3 separate regions of the Homo sapiens genome follow, and regions 1 and 2 are each linked to region 3. The links are contacts of gene promoters, found by promoter capture Hi-C in blood cells and fetal thymus (Javierre and others, 2016). All regions are on one chromosome and are shown on one strand. Each heading gives the region's core, a stretch centred on a gene start or on the middle of the fragment in contact. The rest is flanking DNA. Distances are from core to core; before and after follow the strand shown. Region 1 has its middle 14 kb from the start of RBFA. Region 2 overlaps RBFA (ribosome binding factor A). Region 3 holds the start of ATP9B (ATPase phospholipid transporting 9B (putative)).

What was found. Contacts are between HindIII fragments. The CHiCAGO score rates a contact against its expected background, and 5 or more counts as called.
Region 1: a fragment that was not itself captured here is called in contact with the fragment with the promoter of ATP9B in region 3 in 1 of 17 cell types (total B cells); the score reaches 5.2 in total B cells.
Region 2: a contact is called between a fragment that was not itself captured here and the fragment with the promoter of ATP9B in region 3, in 1 of 17 cell types (neutrophils). The highest score is 5.6, in neutrophils.

What each region holds. Positions count from the first base shown.
Region 1 is chr18:80,017,734-80,022,268 of GRCh38, reverse strand. It overlaps a transcript of TXNL4A not described here. Among named protein-coding and RNA genes, the nearest start is that of RBFA, 14 kb to the left of the region's middle. The HindIII fragment of the contact is 171 bases long and covers 1,761-1,931 here.
Region 2 is chr18:80,044,700-80,048,675 of GRCh38, reverse strand. RBFA (ribosome binding factor A) reads right to left here. Exons shown (of 7, transcript NM_024805.3): 7 at 1-2,902. The coding sequence ends at 2,521. Among named protein-coding and RNA genes, the nearest start is that of RBFA, 12 kb to the right of the region's middle. RefSeq lists an enhancer at 1-138. The HindIII fragment of the contact is 8,122 bases long and covers 1-3,976 here.
Region 3 is chr18:79,066,369-79,071,441 of GRCh38, reverse strand. ATP9B (ATPase phospholipid transporting 9B (putative)) reads right to left here and starts at 2,048. Exons shown (of 30, transcript NM_198531.5): 1 at 1,913-2,048. The coding sequence starts at 2,031. The HindIII fragment of the contact is 22,095 bases long and covers 1-5,073 here.

The sequences.
Region 1 (4,535 bases), core at 597-3,096, 950 kb before region 3:
CTGCCCCACAATAGCCAGATCATTAGCTCCTCTGGTAGTGCCCCTCAAGAAATTCCCAACTTCACTGTTGCCCCTGCAGGAAATGCCCAATGGTGCTACTAGGGCTCAAGTTTCCTGCTCATTGCAGGACCTTAAACAAATAAAGGGGGACCTGGGCAGGTTCTCTAATAACCCTAATAAATATATAGAGGCTTTCCAAAATTTAATCCAAGTGTTTAATCTAACTTAAAAGATGCTATGCTACTTCTAAGCCAAACCCTATTGCAAAAAAAAAAGGTATTCTAGCCCATATGGGAGCCACCATCCTTATGGCTCCAGAACAAACTCTTTGTCCTCCCCTTATTAAAAACCAATGTTAACCCAGAGGTGTGGACAAGTCACGGGAAAATTGGCCAGGCTACAACTGTTATACTGGTCCAAATTCACCTTAAAAATTCCACCTTCTTCCGTAACCAAAAGCAGTACCCGCTAAAGCCAAAAGCTGAAAAACAGAACAAAAACCTAAAAGCCATTATGAATAAATTAAAAGCACAAAACCTTCTCAAGCATTGCAACACCCCAATATTAGGGGTACAGAAACCCAGTGGGAAATGCAGGCTAGTTCAGAACCTCCATCTTGTTAATAAAGCTATAGTTCCAATCCATCCAGTGGTTCCTAATCCGTATACTTTGCTAACTCAAATACCTGAGGGAACTAAATGATTCAGTTTTAAACCTAACAAGTGCCTTTTTCTGCATACCATTGCACCCTAACTCCCAATACTTGTTTGCTTTAAGAAAGTCCCTCCAACCAGCCAGGGGCAGTGGCTCATGCCTGTAATCCCAGCACTTTGGGAGGCCGAGGGGGGCAGATCACGAGGTCAGGAGATCAAGACCATCCTGGCTAACACAGTGAAACCCCGTCTCCACTAAAAAATACAAAAAATTAGCCAGGCATGGTGGCGGGTGCCCATAGTCCCAGCTACTCGGGAGGCTGAGGCAGGAGAATGGCATGAACCTGGGAGGTGGAGCTTGCAGTGAGCTGAGATCATGGCACTGTAGTCCAGCCTGGGCAACAGAGCAAGACTCCATCTCAAAAAAAAAAAAGATCCCTCCAACCAGGCTAACTAGTTAACCTGTACAGTGCTGCCTCAGGGAGTCCAAAACAGTGCCCACCTGTTTGGGCAAGCATTATCAAAAAATCTCTCTGAGTTTTCTCATCCTCAGGTTAAAGTTTTACAATATGTATATAATATTATCCTCTGTGCCCCAACTGAGGGGGTTTCTCAAGAAGGCACTAACGCTCTTTATTTTCTAGCAGGTAGAGGATATAAAGTTTCCAAATCTAATGCTCAGCTCTGTCAAACTTCAGTGAGGTACCTTGGTCTAGTCTTGTCAGAAAGAACCAAAACATTAGGTGAGAAGATAATTAAGACTATTTCCCCATTTCTCCTCCCTGGAACACTCAAACAGCTAAGAGGATTTTTGGGCATTACAGGTTTTTGTAAATTGTAAATACCTGGGTACAGTAAAATGGCTTGCCCTTTATACTGCCTTATAAAATAAACTCAATCAGCTATAAACTCACTCCCTAACTTAAAAACCTGAGGCTCAGAAGGCCTTTAATCAGCTAAAGCCTGACTTAAAGCACCTACGCTCAGTCTTCCCATAGGGAAGGCGTTTAATCTTTATGTCTCAAAAAGAAAGGGAATAGCCTTGGGAGTTTTAACTTAGGCTCAAGGTCCACCCCAGCAGCCATTTGGTTACCTAAGCAAAAAGCTTAACTTGGTGGCTAAAAAATGGCCAGCTTGCCTCTGAGCAGTTGCAGTTGCATGGTTGAGTTAGCCATGAGGAATAAGTTAACTGTTTACACACCCCATAATGTAGCAGCACTGCTATCCTCTAAAGGAAGTCTGTGGCTAACAGGTAATCACCTCCTCAAATATCAAGCTTTGCTGCTGGAAAAACCTGCAGTTCAGTTAAAGACCTGTCCTGGCCTGAACCCAGCCACTTTCCTCCCAGAGGAAACTGGAGAACCTGAACAGGAGTGTAAACAAATGGTGGTGCAAATCTATGCAGCCAAAAAAACCTCAAGGAAATAGGAGGAGGAAGTCACATCTTACGTGGATGGTGGTGGGCAAAGAGAGAGCCTGTGCTGGCAAACTCCCGTTTTTAAAGCCATCAGATTTCCTGAGACTCATTCACTATCATGAGAACAGTGCAGGAAAGACCCGCCCCCACAATTCAATCACCTTTCACCGGGTTCCTCCCACAACACAAGGGAATTGTGGGAGTTACAATTCAAGATGAGATTTGGGTGGGGACACAGCCAAACCATATCACTATCTTGGGGTTCCCTCTGCTGGCTTTACCTTTAACCATTAAAAATGGATATAAATAAAGCATGGTATGGGAGCATTTTTAACGCTACGCAAAAAAACACACACCCTGAGGGTAAGACTTACTCCTTTAGACTAGGTAAAGTTAATAAGATAGCAAATGCCTTCTTCTGCTTTAAAAGCAGAGGAAAAGAACCATACTTGGGAAACCTTTAAATATTCCAAAAGTATGCTCATAATTGCTAAGAGTACAGAGATCTGGAGACTAAGAAGGAACAAGGGTGACACCAAACTGGGAGAGACTATAGAAAAATTTTAATCTAGCCAGACCTCCTAGGTGGAATTCCCAATGGGAATAGCTATCCCTGGGCAGAAATGCCACCCCTTGCCAACCTTATTATCAGGTAATAAATAACACATGGTCCTTGATATGGTTTGGCTGTGTCCCCACCAAAATCTCAACTTGAATTTTATCTCCCAGAATTCCCATGTGTTGTGGGAGGGACCCAGGGGGAGGTACTTGAATCATGGGAACCAGTCTTTCCTGTGCTGTTCTCATGATAAATTCTCTTGAGACCTGATGGGTTTATCAGGGGTTTTTGCTTTTGCTTCTTCCTCATTTTCTCTTGCTGCCACCATGTAAGAAGTGCCTTTCACCTCCCACCATGATTTTGAGACCTCCCCAGCCATTTGGAAATAAGTCCAATTAAACCTTTTCTTGTTCCTAGTTTCAGGTATGTCTTTATCAGCAGCATGAAAACAAACTAATGCAGTACATTGGTACCAGTAGAGTCGGGTGTTGCTGAGAAGATATCCGAAAATGCAGAAGTGACTTTGGAACTAGGTAACAGGCAGAGATTGGAAAAGTTTGAAGGGCTCAAGAGAAGACAGGAAAGTGTAGGAAAGTTTGGAACTTCCTAGAGGCTTGTTGAATGGCTTTGTCCAACATTTTGATAGCGATATGGACAATAAAATTCTAGCTGAGGTAATTTCAGATGAAGATGAGGAATTTGTTGGGAACTGGAGCAAAGGTGACTCTTGTTTTGTTTTAGCAAAGATACTGGTGGCATTTTGCCCCTGCCCTAGAGAACTGTGGAACTTTTAACTCGAGAGAGATGATTTAGGGTATCTGGCAGAAGAAATTTCTAAGCAAAGCATTCAAAAAGTGACGGGTGCTGTTAAAAGCATTTTGTTTCAAGGAATTTATCCATTTCTTCTAGATTTTCTAGTTTATTTGCGTAGAGGTGTTTGTAGTATTCTCTGATGGTAGTTTGTATTTCTGTGGGATCGGTGATGATATCCCCTTTATCATTTTTATTGCGTCTTTTTGATTCTTCTCTCTTTTTTTCTTTATTAGTCTTGCTAGCAGTCTATCAATTTTGTTGATCCTTTCAAAAAACCAGCTCCTGGATTCATTAATTTTTTGAAGGGTTTTTTTGGTCTCTATTTCCTTCAGTTCTGCTCTGATTTTAGTTATTTCTTGCCTTCTGCTAGCTTTTGAATGTGTTTGCTCTTGCTTTTCTAGTTCTTTTAATTGCGATGTTAGCGTGTCAATTTTGGATCTTTCGTGCTTTCTCTTGTGGGCATTTAGTGCTATAAATTTCCCTCTACACACTGCTTTGAATGTGTCCCAGAGATTCTGGTATGTTGTGTCTTTGTTCTCGTTGGTTTCAAAGAACATGTGTATTTCTGCCTTCATTTCGTTATGTACCCAGTAGTCATTCAGGAGCAGGCTGTTCAGTTTCCACATAGTTGAGCAGTTTTGAGTGAGTTTCTTAATCCTGAGTTCTAGTTTGATTGCACTGTGGTCTGAGAGACAGTTTGTTATAATGGATAAATTCCTTGACACATACACTCTCCCAAGACTAAACCAGGAAGAAGTTGAATCTCTGAATAGACCAATAACAGGATCTGAAATTGTGGCAATAATCAATAGCTTACCAACCAAAAAGAGTCCAGGACCAGATGGATTCACAGCCGAATTCTACCAGAGGTACAAGGAGGAACTGGTACCATTCCTTCTGAAACTATTCCAATCAATAGAAAAAGAGGGAATCCTCCCTAACTCATTTTATGAGGCCAGCATCATCCTGATACCAAAGCTGGGCAGAGACACAACCAAAAAAGAGAATTTTAGACCAATATCCGTGATGAACATTGATGTAAAAATCCTCAATAAAATACTGGCAAACCGAATCCAGCAGCACATCAAAAAGC
Region 2 (3,976 bases), core at 1-2,500, 980 kb before region 3:
TGCTATGGATGCCAACACCACATCCGGCACAGGCGTGGAGGTCTGGGCAGCAGCCTGGGGCTCTCTGGGCCTAACTCTACCTTCCATTCCCTCTGCCCACTCCTTCTTGTCCCTTCTGGTCTCTGTCCTCATGGCTCTAGACACTAGTCCCTGTCAGATGTGCTAGAAGGACCTGAGACAAATTGATGGCAGCAATCTGTTTTGTAACAATAAATTGCTAGAACAATAAAACACAGCCTGGGCACATCAGATGCATGCAAAGGTGTGTATGCAAAGGACACACCATTGAGGGCGTTCTCTCCTTCTTTAACACCTTTCCCAAGTTAGGGGGCGGGGGGCAGGTTAACACAAAGCACTCAGAGCAGTGCCTGACCTGCGAAGCACTCCTGCATGGCAGACTCTGTCTTTACTCTGCTGTGGCCCCCTCCAGCGCTGGTGCAAGCACTGGCCCTGTTCCCAGCCCGGCAGTGCTGTGGAGGTACCTGCAAAGCTGGCGTTCTGCTGTTTTCTCATGGAGTCATCATGGTCAAGTACCAGAGCCTTGTAACCTGAAGTTATCTTGCTAGGGAAATACAAAAACGTTTTTTAGGATGTTGCGCTCGTAAATCATCACCATTCATTTCCTACATCAGGATGGGGAGGTCTCTTGTACATAAATGAATTCACATAGCCATGTTCCAGTAACACCAGATACAAAAGGCCTTGGCCTGACCTCAGCCCATGATGGTCCCCTAGAAGAATAAGAGGCAAACTGGTTGTTGTAAGCCAGGGAGATTTGCCATTTGTCACTGCAGTATCACCTCATTATCCTGACCTATATGATTAACCACAGACATGTACACCCCTTCACTGGACACCCCGCAACTGGCTACCAGAAACCCTAGAGATAAACATTTGGCTCACGGTGTAACAGAGGCATCAGCCTTTATGTGTGGTGTACACTTTGTAACCTAATTTCTGGCTCCCTTTTTTTTTTCTCTCTCCTACTCATACCATCATGTGGGGTTTTGTCTATCCTTACAAATTGCCTTAAATTCTTTCTTCTTAGTTTAACTGGCCTGAGGTAGTGGCCTCCCCATCCTGATATAGGAAATAAGAGTGTAGAGTATAAACAAATAATTTCCTAGATCTCAAAAGAAAAATCTTGCTTCTGCCATTTGATGACTTATACACAGCTTAGTCCCAGAGCACAAATGAAAAGAAAAACAAGGGAGTCAGCATCTTGCAGCAGCATCTCCTACTGTCCTTACCCCACACAGTGCACATGCAGCTTTCTGGGTAGTGGCCTCATCACTCGCCCACAGCCGCTGTCTGCAGCACGTGGCCTGGATCCAGTGGTCAGCACGGCAGGCCGCTCAGTGCTACGGGTCTGCTATCCCTTGGACACTTCTCCTTTTTGGGGAGGAGGTGGCAGGGCACAGCAACTAAAGCCACTGCTGCTTCCACAGATTCTACTCCTGCACCGTGGGCACCTGTCATGTGCAAATGCTGGGACAGATGCCTTCCCTGTGCCGTCTTGATTCTCACAGCCCTGCTGCACTGGCAGAGAGCCAGGGCTTGGAGGGATGACACTGACTCGTAGTGCAGAACCTGACAGAATTGAGAGAATTCTGAATTTAGAACCTGACAGCTCACAGGGGCTGGGACATTAAGAGGGAAGCCGAACTAAATAGGAGCTGACAAGGTATGGAATCTGTGTTTTCTCTTCTGATAAACAGCAAAACGAATCTTTGCGTCGGAGGTGACACAAAGAATTCAGTATGACTCAGAGTCGCACACTCTTCAGAAGGCAAAGACCAAGTCTGTTTCACCTTTGGATGGATTAGAAAATACACTAGCTGGCCACGGGCACCAAGGGAAAAGTGTTACTACTTCAGGCGTGATGGAACCACGGTCAGAGCCGGGGTCGCCCAGGAAGCCCCAGCAAACCCAACTCACTTTCTGCCCAACCTTGGCCTGAACCAGAAGGTGGAGCCTGCTGCACAAAGCTGTGAAGAGGCCAGTCAGGGACGGAGCCCCCGGCGCCACGTGCCGACCCAGCAGCCCCAGGGATGGAGCCCCCGGCGCCACGTGCCAGCCCAGCAGCCCCAGGGACGGAGCCCAGCTCCAGGGGGTTGGGAGGCTCTGGGGACCCTCTGTTCTCCCCAGGTTTGCAGGTTCAGTTCTTACCCCGGCCACTGCTGTGGCCTGACCCCTCGGGCCAAGCACTCACTGGCACCTGGCAGGGCTCTGCAGGTGGAGGTGGCCATGCCAGCATCTCAGAGACACTATTTTACCATTTTCTTTTTGTGAGAATCTGTGATAAGATGGCCATTTAATTTTTAAATTACACACAGTGCATGGAAAAAAAAACAGTGACTTGTGTAGCAAATTGTGTTTAGATACACGGAAAAGCTAGAAAATGTTGAAGTAGCAGAAGAGCAGATGGTTTAACTCCATCAACTGCCTCAATGAAGCCACATGCTGCGTTGCGTGCCAATGCTTTTCCCTGCAAATGTGGGATGGGCAGAGCCTCTCCATCTACTCCCTGCTTGCTCCGCAGCTGTGGCCATCCTCTGTTCTGCCACCTCCTCTCTCTGCCTCCAACTCCTCTGTGTCCGGGGCATAGCATTCGTACTCCGGGGCACCAACCAGGTCCAGGTCATCTTCAACCTCCTCGCCTGACAGGTAACTCTTGAGGGAGCTGTCCTGCTCCAGGCGGGGCTTGGCCCTCTTCCTTCCCTTTTTCATCTGCGTTGTCAGCTCAGCCACCTGCCCCTGCCACACCAGGCCCCCGAGCCCTTTATCTTTCCTCCTTTTGTACTCCATAATCTGCTTGTTGAGCGCCTCATGATCGATCCCACACAGACTGGAGCTTGTGGTCGGCTCTGTGGTGCCGCAGGGTTGTGGGGCATCAGGGTCCCTGGGAAGGAAGAAGAGGCTTCACACCAAGCACAAACCATGCCCCTAGTCCACAGTGTCGTCGCCACAACACAACAGCACATCACACTTCCTACATCTACTCGCCTGAGAACCCTCCCAAACGTCTATCTGAGGGTAACTGGAGACAGGAGTGAAGGAAGGTGGGCTTTGGTTTCCGCCTTCTCCAGTGTCAGAAGCATTCGGCCAGCACAGTCCAGGTGCACCGTCCTGTATGCAATAAATGCATTTGCGCCGGGCACGGTGGCTCACATCTGTAATCCCAGCACTGTGCGAGGCTGAGGCGGGCGGATCACGAGGTCAGGAGTGCAAGACCAGCCTGGCCAACATGGTGAAACCCTGTCTCTACTAAAAATACAAAAATTAGCTGGGCGTGGTGGCGCTCGCCTGTAATCCCAGCTACGCAGGAGGCTGAGGCAGGAGGATCGCCTGAACCCAAGAGGCAGACATTGCAGTGAGCCAAGATCACGCCGCTGCACTCTAACCTGGGCGACAGAGTGAGACTCTGCCTCAAAAAAAAAAAAAAAAGCGTTTGCAACTTTTTTCTCTAAGCATGGCCAGTGCCTCGGGCCAGTTCAACTGGCAGAATCGCAGGTGAGGCCTATCAGACCTGCCACTCATTCGCCTTCATGAAGAGTCTATTCTTGGTGAACAGCACCTAGTCAAGGCCACGTCACAGCCCCTGTATCCTCCAAGGCTCCACTTTGGAAAGTTTCCACACCCTGGGCTCAGCTCCCTGCCCTGCCGCCCCCACACTGCCCCTTGCTGACACGGTCAGGCCAGGCCTGCTACAGCGTGGAGCTTTGCTTCCAGCTCAGGGATGCACCTGGCAGGCTGGTTAAACCCGACTCTGGCAGGTGCCAGGCGATGTTGACGCTGCTGTCTAAGGCCCCCAGGCAAGGCCTGCTCTAGCAGCTGTGGGCTTGGAATGGGGCCCCCCACAAACACCCCAAGACCTGCAGGCTCTGTCAGGCACTACATGTTTGGAAAAGATGTGTATGTGTGTGTACATGCACAGGCCAAACTTCCACGCCCCCGACCTGCTCTCCCAAGCCCC
Region 3 (5,073 bases), core at 799-3,298:
CCAGGAGAACAGAGTGAGACCCTGTCTCAAAAAAAAAAAAAAGGAAGAACAATAGAAAAAGGGGAAATATGCGTATGTGGTATATGCAATACACTATCTTTATCATCATGAGTTTTATAAACCATATTTGATGACTGACACAAAAACTGTAACACCATCTGATACCCAGGACATGATACTTAAAGTGAGGACCTAAGTGAAAGAAGGGTTTCCACACTTGACTGGAAGTGGTGAAATACAGCAATACACCATGGTGATAAGTCACATTTGTATATTGTAATACCCAGAGCAAGCACTGTAAAAACTATACCAACACCTAATCTCAAACACACTATAGGGATACCAAAAAAGTGTCCAAGTAACCCAAAAAGTGGCAAAAAAAAAAAAAAAAAGAAACAGGAATCAGAATGAGAATCAGAAGAAACAGAACACAGATAATAAATGGCACACTTATATTCTAACATATCAGTAATTATCGTAAATGTAAATGGTGTAAATATGCCAATCAAAAGAGAATGGCATAGTTGATAAAAAATATAAGATCCAACAAGAAACTCACTTCAAATTCAACATAGGTAAGTTGAAAGCTAATACCATGCAAACATTAATCCAAAAAAAAGCATAAATGGCGACATCAATATCTAATAAAGATTTTAGAGCAAAGAAAATTACCAGAGACAGAGGAACATTAACAATGAAAGGAACAATCCACCGAGATGACAAAAAATCTTGAATGTGCGTGCACCACATGACAGTGCTTCAAAGTACATGAGGCAAAAATGGATTCAATCTGTGATGGAAACCTATTTTGAAACAGGTGGCACATTTCCAACTAAAGAACTCCTAAAATTAAACAGATTTACTAACACAATTACTGTTATAGGTAACACCAGAACCCACTTCCAACCAAGCACTGAAAAAAGGGCACCTTACACATGTTCTACTGTAATCTCCAATAATCCCGTAAGAAAAAATATTATCCAGCATTTTACAGATGAGGAAACCATGGCTTGAGTTTAAATAAGTTACCCGAGAGTAAATCGCTAGTGGGTAAACACTCAAATCAGCGTTATAACATTCCAGTATGTACTTTGAGCTATATGTTAGTCTCTCAAATGGCCGAAAACAAAAATTATTCAAAAACTCAAATTCTGAAGCAACTACATATTGAGTGAAATTATGTTTTCGACAATTCCTCTGGAATAAAACTTCAAAAACTATAAGAAGCAACACTTTTTAAAATTTTCTTTTCTTTGAATGAGAAATGTTAAATATGAGCTAAATGCAATCTCGAGTATGAAAGGTCTGTACACTAATTCTACTGCTAACCTGTGACCCCACTAAACAAGTTAACCGTTCTCAATACCCCATTTCCCTTTCGTAAAAGCAAAATTACTTGTCGACAAAAAGCACTTTGTATATATATGTTTAAACAAAAAGTGTGCCTAGCAAAGATATCGAAATGTCGAAGAGAAGTCATTTCAATAAGAAGTGTGTTTTTAACAAAGCAATTAAAAGTTACATCCGTCACCTTCACAATTCACAGGGCTACAAGAACAAGTTTCGGAGACTCTGAAGTATCCGAGAAGTTAGCACTTTTGATCCCCGTTTACTTTAGGAGAGCAGCCACCCCTCAACACTGGACCGCGGTTCTCTGCTCCCGTTCTGGCTCCTACGCTCGGCCCAGGCGTCCCGGGGATGCAGCCGCTCGCCCCGGCAGCTGCCCGCGGCCCTCACCACCGGCGGACGCCACAGCTGCGGCGCGCTCAGAACGCCAAGGACTCCCGGCTCCCAGCGAACAGATGGGGCGCGCCGGTAGCGACCCCAGACCCGCCCGGCTCCGGGTTCCTGCGGTGGGCTGGGGGCCCCGGGGAGCGTCGGCGGGGAACGGGGCCAGTGCCGCCTCGGTTACCTGCTGTGCCGGTCGGCTCCCGGCCTGGGCCCCGCGGCGCTGTAGTAGGCCGCGCGTTTGCGGTTGGCTGCGGCCGCCGCTGCGCTACGCACCGGGTAAAGCGGGATCTGGTCCGCCATGTTCCGACCGCCCCTTTCCCGCCCCTCCCACTTTCCCCTCAATTCGCCACCTTTTCCCCGCCCTCTCCCCTCAGCGCCAACCCCGGCTGAGGCGCCGCCTGCGGGCCTTCCCCGCCTCCGCCAAGCGGCGAGGTCCGATGACGTAACGAGCGGCGGCGCGGAAGGTGTGGCGTCCCTAGGCCCCGCCCTCGTTTGGCGTCGGCGCACGATGACGTGCCCAGGGTGGCAAAAGCGCGGCGCAGGAGGCAGTGGAGTCCGGGCAATGACGTCACGAGTGGCTAAAGCTGGGACGGGGGGCGTCGCGTTCCGAGGCCCCGCCCCCGCCTCGTGACGGGCCCGATGACGTCACCGATCGGCGGGGCGGGGCGCGCGTGCGCCACAGGCTGGCCTTCCGGTAGCGCGCGAGGGCCTGCACGTGGGTCGTGGTTCGACCCGGCGCGCTCTGGTCCGCGGGTGGAAGGGCCTCGCAGCCGTCTCCTGGAAGCTCTGCCGGGGACACGCGTGGGCGCGCGCGGCCTCCTTAGCGGTCCAGAGCCTGCGCTGCCAGTAGTACGCGCGCCCCATGGCTGTGTGGGGCCCCACGCGCCCTCCTCGCCGCGCGGCTTCTTGCTTCCGCCCCGCGCTTCTCCAGCCTGCCTTCGGTGCCCGCTTCCTGCCCGCGCCCTTGGAACCGCTGGTGTCTGTGCGTTCACAGGCAGGGTCGTGCTACGTGGCCCGGGCCCCCAAAGCGCCGCGACTGCAGGCGCGCCCACCGCGCCGGGCTGAATTTCCGAGATGTTCTTGTCCTGCTTCCTCACTGCTGCTTCCTTCTTTCTCTGGTTCTGGGTCTTTAGCTTGATTCCACATCCCCCACCTCTAGGCCCACAGCCTGCTGAAAAGTCCTATAGGCGACTGTCAGAAACGAGGTTTACACCCTCAGTCTACACAAGAAAGCAAAACGATATTGAATAAACGAATACACGGCTTTGGTTGGGTTTGTTTCATTTCCTGTCCCGAGGACAGCTCCCTTCCACCTCCATCACCCGCTGCAGCTGGAAGCCGGCAAGCTGATGCACCGCTCACCTCACGTATTAATGGTTTACTCACTTTGTGTTTTTTTAAACAATGTTTTTCTGATATTCCATTTTCATGACATATAAATTTTGTCTATGTGTTTGAAACACTGTTCAACATGAACTTATAAATGCTTTTCTTTTCTGTTTTTTGGAGATGGGGTCTCTGTTACCCAGGCTGGAGTGTAATGTTTTGATCACGGCTCACTACATCTTCCACCTCTCAAGGTTCAGGTGATCTTCCCCCATCTGCATGTATTACTTTTTCATTATAAAAAATGGTCTTTATGAATATGAATATTCTTAATTTGTTGCTGCCACTCTGATTGCCAGTTTGCTTCTCAGCTGCTTTTCATGTAACCTGAATACATGCCACTCCACAGACACTAACTACTTTCAAAAGACGCCAATGGCCTCCTAATTGACAATGGCCTCACCCATTATTTCTCTACCTCACTCTCAGCCGCTGACACTGTTCACACCATCTCTCACCCACATTCAACAACTGATATTGATAACACCATCTCATTCTCACAGCACTGGCACTGTAACACCATCTCCTCACCCTCACTCAGTACCTGACAGTGATAACGCCGTCTCCTCACCCTCACTCAACTACTGACAGTGACAACAGCATCTTCTCACCCTCACTCAACTACTGACAGTGACAACACCATCTGACCCTCAGTCAACACCTGACAGTGACAACATCTTCTGACCCTCACTCAGCAACTGAAAGTGACAACAACATTTCTTCACCCTCACTCAACAACTGACAATGACAACACCTTCTCCTGACCCTCAACTACTGACAGGGACAACACCGTCTTCTCACCCTCACTCAATAACTGACAGCAACAACACCATCTCCTGACCCTCACTCAACTACTGACAGTAACACCATCATCTCCTGACCCTCACTCAACATCTGACAGTGACAGACCATCTCCTCTCTCTCACTCAACACCTGACAGTGATAACACCTTCTCCTCACCCTCACTCAACTTCCAACAGTGACAACAGCATCTCCTCACTGTCAGTCAACTACTGATAGTGACAACACCATCTCCTCACCCTCACTCAACACCTGAGAGTGACAACAGCATCTCCTCAGCCTCAGTCAACAACTGACAGTGTACCCTCACTCAACAACTGACAGTGACAACACCATCTCCTGACCCTCACTCAACTACTGACAGTGACAACACCGTCTCCTGTCTCCTTACCCTCACTCAACAACTGACAGTGACACCATCTCCTCACCCTCACTCAACACCTGACAGTGACAACAGCATCTCCTTACCCTCACTCAACACCTGAAAGTGACAACAGCATCTCAGCCTCATTCAAGAACTGACAGTGACAACATCTCCTCACCCTCACTCAACACCTGACAGTGACAACAGCATCTCCTCACCCTCACTCAACACCTGACAGTGACAACAGCATCTCCTCAGCCTCATTCAAGAACTGACAGTGACAACACCATCTCCTCAGCCTCACTCAACAGCTGACAGTGACAACATCATCTATACCCTCACTCAACACCTGACAGTGACAACAATATCTCCTCACCCTCTCTCAAGAACTGACAGTGGCAACACCATCTCCTCACCCTCACTCAACTACTGACAGTGACAACACCATCTCCTCACCCTCACTCAACACCTGACAGTGACACCACCATCTCCTCACCCTCACTCAAGAACTGACAGTGACATCACCATCTCCTCAGCCTCACTCAACTACTGACAGTGACAACACCATCTCCTGACCCTCACTCAGCTACTGACAGTGACAACACCATCTCCTCACCCTCATTCAACAACTGACAGTGACACCATCTCCTCACCCTCACTCAACACCTGACAGTAACAACAGCATCTCCTCACCCTCACTCAACACCTGACAGTGACAACAGCATCTCCTCACCCTCACTCAAGAACTGACAGTGACAACACCATCTCCTCAGCCTCACTCAACTGACAGT